Regions from separate parts of the Homo sapiens genome. Here all the other regions are linked to region 3. Evidence: promoter capture Hi-C in human tissues and cell types (Jung and others, 2019). All regions are on one chromosome and are shown on one strand. Each heading gives the region's core, a stretch centred on a gene start or on the middle of the fragment in contact. The rest is flanking DNA. Distances are from core to core; before and after follow the strand shown.

Region 1 (2,856 bases), core at 123-2,622, 420 kb after region 3:
ACAGAGGGCAAGACGGCAGCTGCCCACAGTCCAGTCCTTGGGTTGGACACATCCCTCCTGGCCTTGGACAAGAGACACCCGCACAGCCTCTCTCCTTGTTACAAAGACCAATCTGGGATGTGCTGCAGGCCGAGGCTGGCCACCAGGTCCCTGAGGCCCGTGTTACCCCACGCACAGAGAAGGAGGCTGAAGTCTACCAGCTCCCTCTCCTCACCTGGGACCATCTCGCAGCAAGAAAAAAGGTGGTCAGATGGAAACAGGAAGCCAAGTCGAATGGATCTGAGACCGTCCCCCTGAGAAACAGCGGGGCTCAGAGAGGGTCTCTGAGGTTTTATCTGGCCCTTTTGGGCTGGGAGGCTGCCTGGGAAGCCACCGACTCCGTGGGAAGGGAGACCCGTGAACGCTGTGCGGGTAGCGGGAACATGTGGGTCTGTCACACTGGCCCGAGGCTGCAGCGGTGGTGGCTTGGCTGTGTTTGGGGAGGGTGGGGGACACATGGCAGCAATGTTGGAGCTGTGGACAGCTTCCTGTGATCAAAATATGATTCCTGAAGGTCAAGGTCACCAGAGCTTGGCCTGGGGCCTAGGGGTGCTGTGCGAGAAGTCGGACGGTGGCCCAGTGCTACCTTTCCATCATGGGCCATGGAAGTCTCCCAAGCCTGTCCCTGACAACTGGACACCAAATACACCCCTTCATGCTTTCTTCTCGGGTCTCTGCAGGGTGAGCTGGGTGCCCAGGGACAGGCTCGAGGGACTGGCATGTCTCTCTCTGGCCAAGCCTCCTTCCTCAGCTTTCTGGAAGGAGTGAATTGTGTCCAGGGACCAGAACTCTCAGTGGTGTCTGGAAAACACTACATCAGAGAGGAATTTCCTGGTCATTTCTCAATCCCTGGGCAATGTCCTCAGCCCCGGGGCCTGGAGCCCAGAATAGATCCCAGAGGCCACCCTGAGACAGCCCAGGCCAAGACCACCCCACTGAAGCCTGGTCAACTGTGCTCTTCAGGTCCCTCCTAGAGGCCCCCTACTACCCCGGGAGGCTCCAAGCCTAAGTGATGGTGACTCAGGAATTCCCCACCCAGGCCAGAGAGGGAGACACTGGGGGAGGGAGGAGACCTGTGTGTGGGGAGGTGGCAGGTGGCTCAGTGATGGGAACCAAGAGAGGATGTGGGGAGGAGAGTGGAGGCAGCGATGGGAGATGGATGTCCTGGATTGGGCGGGTGGACGGGGAGTGGGGAGTGTGCCAGGGGGCCCTCTGGAGAACAGTGAGGGAGGGCGGGGCAGAGAGAGGAAATGAAAAAGCTGGGGTGAGCAGGCAAGCTGAGGAGGGTGGGAAGGAGGGAGGGACGGAGGGAGGAGGGAAGGAGAAGCTGACACACAGACCGACACAGGCAGCGAGAGACACGAGGAGCAAAGCAAGTGAAGGCACAGACGCACGGGACAGGAGAGCCTGGGCAAGACTGGAGAGGTGCGGTGAGGGGCTGGGGATGCAGCAACACAGAGCAGGAGCAGGTAGAGGGTGTGGGGTTAGAGGGAGAAAGGTACGGGGAGGACAAGGACAAGGGAGGGGACAGAGACAGGGAGATATCAGCAAGAGACCGAGAGACAGGGAGGGAAAGAACTGGCAATGCCCGGATGTTCTCTGTCTCTTTAATGGCAGAAACAGAGCTAGAGAAGGAAAGAAACAGGAGGTGGTGGGGGGGTGGTGGGTGTCAGGCATGGTGGCTCACACCTGTAATCTCAGCACTTTGGGAAGCCAAGGTGGATGGATCACCTGAGGTCAGGAGTTCGAGACCAGCCTGACCAACATGGTGGAACCCCGTCTCTACTGAAAATACAAAAATTAGCTGGGCGTGGTAGTGGACGCCTGTAATCTCATCTACTCCAGAGGCTGGGGCAGGAGAATCGCTTGAACCCAGGAGGTGGAGGTTGCAGTGAGCCGAGATCATGCCATTGCTCTCCATCCTGGACAACAGAGTGAGACTCTGTCTCAAAAGAAACGAAAGAAAAGAAAGAGAGAAAGAGAAACAGGAAGGTGGGGAGAGACAGAGAGAGATACTGGAGAAGCCAGAGGGGAGAGGACTGCATACCCGCACACACAGGAGAACTGGGGGTTGGCTGGGAGGCCCCAGCTGCCAAAAGGACTGGCCAGCAGGGACATCTGAGTGGGCTGGGTGGTGGGGGTAGCCCTGGCTCCCTCTGACCCCCCACCTTGGGAACCCTCCAGCCCAGACCTGGGATGGCGGATTCGTGCAGGAACCTCACCTACGTGCGGGGCTCGGTGGGGCCGGCCACCAGCACCCTGATGTTCGTGGCCGGTGTGGTGGGCAACGGGCTGGCCCTGGGCATCCTGAGCGCACGGCGACCGGCGCGCCCCTCGGCCTTCGCGGTGCTGGTGACCGGACTGGCGGCCACCGACCTGCTGGGCACCAGCTTCCTGAGCCCGGCCGTGTTCGTGGCCTATGCGCGCAACAGCTCCCTGCTGGGCCTGGCCCGAGGCGGCCCCGCCCTGTGCGATGCCTTCGCCTTCGCCATGACCTTCTTCGGCCTGGCGTCCATGCTCATCCTCTTTGCCATGGCCGTGGAGCGCTGCCTGGCGCTGAGCCACCCCTACCTCTACGCGCAGCTGGACGGGCCCCGCTGCGCCCGCCTGGCGCTGCCAGCCATCTACGCCTTCTGCGTCCTCTTCTGCGCGCTGCCCCTGCTGGGCCTGGGCCAACACCAGCAGTACTGCCCCGGCAGCTGGTGCTTCCTCCGCATGCGCTGGGCCCAGCCGGGCGGCGCCGCCTTCTCGCTGGCCTACGCCGGCCTGGTGGCCCTGCTGGTGGCTGCCATCTTCCTCTGCAACGGCTCGGTCACC
Region 2 (2,838 bases), core at 338-2,837, 260 kb after region 3:
CAAGGGATCCTCCTGCTTTAGCCTCCCAAATACCTGGGACTACAGGTGCATGCCACTGAATCCAGCTTGTTCTTCAGTAATAATAACAATAACAGCAATCGCAGCAGTAGTATTTGACTTTCTTCTGAAGGGCATTTTTGTTAGAAACAAAAGAAGAGAGAAAGAACAAAAAATTTTAAAGCACAAATAAATAACTTTTTTTTTTTTGAGGTGGAGTCTCACTCTGTCACCCAGGCTGGAGTGCAGTGGTGAGATCTCGGCTCTTCGCAACCTCTGCCTCCTGGATTCAAGCAATTCTTCTGCCTCAGCCTCCTGAGTAGCTGGGATTACAGGCATGTGCCACCACACCCAGCTAATTTTTGCATTTTCAGCAGAGACAGGGTTTTGCCATGTTGGCCAGGCTCGTCTGGAACTCCTGACCTCAAGTGATCTGCCCGCATCAACTCCCAAAGTGGTGGGATAACAGGCGTGAGCCACTGCGCCCGGCCGTATTATCTCATTTGAACCCTTGCAACACTCAAGGCGGTATGACTTATTATTATTCCCATTTACACATATGAAGACTGAGCCTCATAGAGGTTGTAAATTACCTGAGGCCTCACAGCTGCTGTAGGAGGAAGCTTCTGACATTACCACTACAATCTTTGAGCAAGCATGAAAGCCTGAAATGTCACAGAACAGGCTAGAGATGGGAAAGGAATGAGGATTTCAACACTGTCAGGTGGAGTAAGGAATCATAATTCATTGTTAACCTCCCAAACGGCCACTAACAGAGAATTTGGGGAGGCAGCAGAGTGGGTGCGGTTAGGGGCTTGGGAGGTGGGCATGCACGTGTCATCCTCTCTAGGTGTGGCCTCAAGGTGAATGACTTCCTCTGCCTCTGGGGTTCAAGCGATTCTCCTGCCTCAGGCTTCCAGTAGCTGGGATTACAGGCACGTGCCACCACACCAGGTAATTTTTGTATTTTTAGTAGAGACGGGTTTCACCATGTTGGCCAGGCTGGTCTCGACCTCCTGACCTCAAGTGATCCGCCCGCTTCACCTCCCAAAGTGGTGGGATTACAGGCTTGAGCCACGGCTCCCTAAATAAATACATCAATTTTATTTAAATCTTACAGCAATCATATGAGACAAAAGCTTTTAACACCTGCACTTTATATTCGAGGAATTAAAGTTCTCAGAGGCGACTAAAGACCAAACTCAGGGCTGAGGAGTTCCAAAGCTGAGTTGAGTTGCAAATGAATCACCGAGGACCACCGGAGCTTTCTAGCGACCCTCGCACCAGGGAACGAACCCCTGTGGTTTAAGGGCTCCAACCCACAACCCAGTTCCTTTGGCGGGAAACAGCACCCTCCCAAGGCCCCGCCCCTTCCTGGCCCCGCCCCGTCGTCTCTGGGCCCGGCTCCTGGAGATGGGTATTATTAATCTGCCTTCTATGGGGGACCTGGCCCATCTCGGGTATCAGCCCCGCCCCTACTCGTCCAGTCTCCGAACGCTCTGCAGCCAATCGGCGCCCGAGGGTCGGTCCCCGCCTTCTCAAGCCCCGCCCCCTACCCTTATCCCTGGCAGCTTCCGCTAAACGGGCTCAGAGCCACGCGGCACGCCCGGGAGGCTTTCTCTGGCTGGTAACCGCTACTCCCGGACACCAGACCACCGCCTTCCGTACACAGGGGCCCGCATCCCACCCTCCCGGACCTAAGAGCCTGGGTCCCCTGTTTCCGGAGGTCCGCTTCCCGGCCCCCAGATTCTGGCATCCCAGCCCTCAGTGTCCAAGACCCAGGCAGCCCGGGTCCCCGCCTCCCGGATCCAGGCGTCCGGGATCTGCGCCACCAGAACCTAGCCTCCTGCAGACCTCCGCCATCTGGGGGCACTCAACCTCCTGGAGCCAAGGGCCCCACGTCCCACCCAGAGAAACTCTCGTATTCCCAGCTCCTAGGGCCAAGGAACCCGGGCGCTCCGAACTCCCAGCTTTCGGACATCTGGCACACGGGGCAGAGCAGAGAAGCCTCAGCGCCCAGCCTGGGGAATTTAAACACTCCAGCTTCCAAGAGCCAAGGAACTTCAGTGCTGTGAACTCACAACTCTAAGGAGCCCTCCAAAGTTCCAGTCTCCAGGTGCTGTTACTCAACTCAGTCCTAGGAACGTCGGGTCCTGGGAAGGAGCCCAAGCGCTCCCAGCCAGCTTCCAGGCGCTAAGAAACCCCGGTGCTTCCCATCATGGTGGCCGATCCTCCTCGAGACTCCAAGGGGCTCGCAGCGGCGGAGCCCACCGCCAACGGGGGCCTGGCGCTGGCCTCCATCGAGGACCAAGGCGCGGCAGCAGGCGGCTACTGCGGTTCCCGGGACCAGGTGCGCCGCTGCCTTCGAGCCAACCTGCTTGTGCTGCTGACAGTGGTGGCCGTGGTGGCCGGCGTGGCGCTGGGACTGGGGGTGTCGGGGGCCGGGGGTGCGCTGGCGTTGGGCCCGGAGCGCTTGAGCGCCTTCGTCTTCCCGGGCGAGCTGCTGCTGCGTCTGCTGCGGATGATCATCTTGCCGCTGGTGGTGTGCAGCTTGATCGGCGGCGCCGCCAGCCTGGACCCCGGCGCGCTCGGCCGTCTGGGCGCCTGGGCGCTGCTCTTTTTCCTGGTCACCACGCTGCTGGCGTCGGCGCTCGGAGTGGGCTTGGCGCTGGCTCTGCAGCCGGGCGCCGCCTCCGCCGCCATCAACGCCTCCGTGGGAGCCGCGGGCAGTGCCGAAAATGCCCCCAGCAAGGAGGTGCTCGATTCGTTCCTGGATCTTGCGAGGTCAGCTCCCGCTCCCCCGGGAGGTGGGGAAGAGTGTTACGGATGGCGGGAGTGGTC
Region 3 (2,870 bases), core at 168-2,667:
AAACATTGCTCTTAACTTCACCGCCTATCCCAAAACCTCTAAGAACTAATGATAATCCACCACCCTTTGCTGACTCTCTTTTCGGACTCAGCCTGCCTGCAGCCAGGTGAAATAAACAGCCATCTTGCTCACACAAAGCCTGTTTGGTGGTCTCTTCACATGGACGCGCATGAAACGATTCTCCTGCCTCAGCCTCACAAGTAGCTGGGATTACAGGTGCCTGCCACCATGCCTAATTTTTGTATTTTTAGTAGAGATGGGGTTTCACCATGTTGGTCAGGCTGGTCTCGAACTCCTGATCTCGTGATCTGCCCGCCTCAGACTCCCAAAGTGGTGGGATTACAGATGTGAGCCACCGTGCCTGGCCCGGGCTTGGATTTTATGAAGAGGAAAAGTAGGGGAGCTAGCAAGGGGGTTACACTTGAGGAGGGAGTTCAAATGGACTGCACTGCATAGCCTGCAGGCTTGCAATGAATGTGAAGCTTTAAATGGGATTAAGTGCAAATTGAAAATATTCCAGACACATTTTTCACATTCCTGGCTAGTGAAAAGGTTTATGCTGATGAGAGAAGGCAAAGCTGAATCCCGGAATGGGTTAGGGCAAAGAAAACAAATCTGTCTTAAAGAGACAGACCTGGCCGGGCACGGTGGCTCACGCCTGTAATCCCAGCACTTTTGGAGGCCGAGGCGGTTGGATCACTTGAGGTCAGGAGTTCGAGACCAGCCTGGCCAACATGGTGAAACCCTGTCTCTACTAAAGATACAAAAATTAGCTGGGCGTGGTGGCGCATGCCTATAATCCCAGCTACTCAGGAGGCTGACGCAGGAGAATCGCTTGAACCCGGGAGGTGGAGGTTGCAGTGAGCCGAGATCGCACCACTGCACTCCAGCCTGGGCGACAGAGCAAGACTCGGTCTCGGGGCGGGGAAAAAAAAGGAAGGAGGGAAGGAAGGAAGGAGGGGAGGGAAGGGAGGGAGGGAGGGAAAAAGAAAGAGAGAAAGAAAGAAAGAAGGAAAGAAAGAAAGAGAAAGAAAGAAAAAGAAAGAAAGAAAGAAAGAGAAAGAAAGAAAGAGAAACAACCAAGAAACAACTACAATAGGTGCTCGGCATGTACTCCGTTAAAAAAGATAGAATTAAAACTACAATTCCCAGCAGACATCTCGCCTGCGACTTCTGAATATCGGCTTTCCCCGAGCGCAATGATCGCTGGGATTCGTAGTCCGGTACAAAATCAAGGAGGGACGGGCACTACCGGCCTAGATGACAGAGGAGGGAATCACTGCCATTCCGACCAATGGACAGTTCACGCCGGACCTGAGTGGCGAGCGCATAGCCAATGGGTAAGCCATTCATCCTGAGTGACATGGGTTGCAACCTACCGGAGGCCGGTGGGGCGGTACGGCGCGCGGCGGCCGTAGTGCGAATCATGGGAGGCGGCTGGTGGTGGGCTCGGGCCGCTCGCCTTGCCCGTCTTCGCTTCCGGAGGTCGCTACTGCCGCCTCAGCGGCCCCGGAGCGGGGGCGCCCGGGGGTCCTTCGCCCCCGGCCACGGTCCCCGCGCCGGGGCTTCGCCGCCCCCAGTGTCCGAGCTGGATCGTGCGGACGCCTGGCTCCTCCGAAAAGCGCACGAGACAGGTCGGTGGCTAGGGGTGGGGGCGGTGCGGATGGGACGGGGGTCCCGGGCTCGCGTGGGACCTTGATGGGGCGGGGGCTTCTGCAGGAAACGGGGCCCGGGCTCGGCTCCGAGAAGGGCTTCAGTGTGAGCGCACGGAAGCGCAGACTGCAAGAGCGCAGGTGCCCGCAGAGGGGATGGGCTTGCGGGGAGGACGAGGACCCCGGGTAACGGGGCGCCGTAGGGATTGGAGGGGGTGGTAGGGTTGCGCGAGGCAGCCTCGTAGAATCGCGCCTGCCGTGGGGAGAGGGGCTTCAGGGAGAGCTTAGGGTCTGTGGAGTTGGGTACAAGATGGGTCCATCCCGATTGCAGAGGCCACCACTGTGCAGAGAGCGGGAGTGTGGATCCCCGCAGAAGAGGGGGAAGTTCAGGATTGGAGAAGGGGACAACCAATCGGGAGAAAGCTCTCTGCTGATTGGAGGGGGAGGTGATCTAGGCTGCAGAGGGCGGGGCTTGTGACGGAGGCGAGGTCCAGAATGGAGCGGACTGGCCATGTTTGTTTTTTTTTTAATTTTATTTTTTTAATGACGGTGTCTTGCTCTGTCACCGAGGCTGGACCGCAGTGGCGCAATCGTAGCCCACTGCAGCCTTGAACTCCTGGGCTCAAGCTATCCTCTTGCCTCAGCCTCCTGCTTAGCTGGAGCTACAGGCATACACCACCGCACCCAACTATTTTAATTTATGTAGAGACGGGGTCTTGCTTTGTTGCCCAGGCTGGTCTGAACTCTTGGGCTCAGAGAATCCTCCTGCCTTGGCTTCCCAAAGTGCTGGGATTATAGGTGTGAGTCACCTCACTAGGCCAGGACCGGGCATCTAGATATAGGGTGTGGTGGGCTGTTTGTAAAGGACGTGAATGGGGACGGACGTGGGTGGGATTGGCCCAGGCCATACTCGGTAGGACATGGATGGGATTGGCCCAGGCCATACTCGGTAGGAGATGGCGGCATTTGAAGGAAAAGAAGGGCGAGGCTGAAGAGCGGCCTGGATTAGGAAACAGTTTGTCCCAGAGTTCTGAGAAAGAAGTGAGTGGGCAGGCCGTGGGGGTACACGTAGAGGGAGGGGTTTGGCCAAGATGACTCCTCAGATGGAGGTTCTGCAACTTTGCCCCTAGATTGTCCTCCACATTCTGCAGGGACTATCTTGAATCCTTTATTTTTTTTGAGACGGAGTCTCACTCTGTCGCCCAGGCTGGAGTGCAG

The links. The method cuts DNA at HindIII sites, captures the fragments that hold promoters and counts their contacts. A contact is called where the count stands out against the background at its distance.
Region 1: the fragment with the promoter of PTGIR here is called in contact with the fragment with the promoter of TMEM160 in region 3 in 1 of the 25 tissues and cell types used here (small bowel).
Region 2: a contact is called between the fragment with the promoter of SLC1A5 here and the fragment with the promoter of TMEM160 in region 3, in 1 of the 25 tissues and cell types used here (pancreas).

The regions. Positions count from the first base shown.
Region 1 is chr19:46,623,605-46,626,460 of GRCh38, reverse strand. It overlaps PTGIR (prostaglandin I2 receptor), which reads left to right and starts at 1,372. Exons shown (of 3, transcript NM_000960.4): 1 at 1,372-1,464; 2 at 2,224-2,856. The coding sequence starts at 2,236. RefSeq lists an enhancer at 657-1,157. The HindIII fragment of the contact is 28,599 bases long and covers 1-2,856 here.
Region 2 is chr19:46,787,343-46,790,180 of GRCh38, reverse strand. It overlaps SLC1A5 (solute carrier family 1 member 5), which reads left to right and starts at 1,587. Exons shown (of 8, transcript NM_005628.3): 1 at 1,587-2,781. The coding sequence starts at 2,216. RefSeq lists silencers at 1,270-1,429, 2,400-2,449, 2,460-2,509 and enhancers at 1,375-1,669, 1,318-1,919. The HindIII fragment of the contact is 6,368 bases long and covers 879-2,838 here.
Region 3 is chr19:47,047,171-47,050,040 of GRCh38, reverse strand. TMEM160 (transmembrane protein 160) reads left to right here and starts at 1,417. Exons shown (of 3, transcript NM_017854.2): 1 at 1,417-1,634. The coding sequence starts at 1,427. RefSeq lists enhancers at 1-474, 475-992, 1,116-1,410, 1,920-1,989 and a silencer at 1,450-1,639. The HindIII fragment of the contact is 17,900 bases long and covers 1-2,870 here.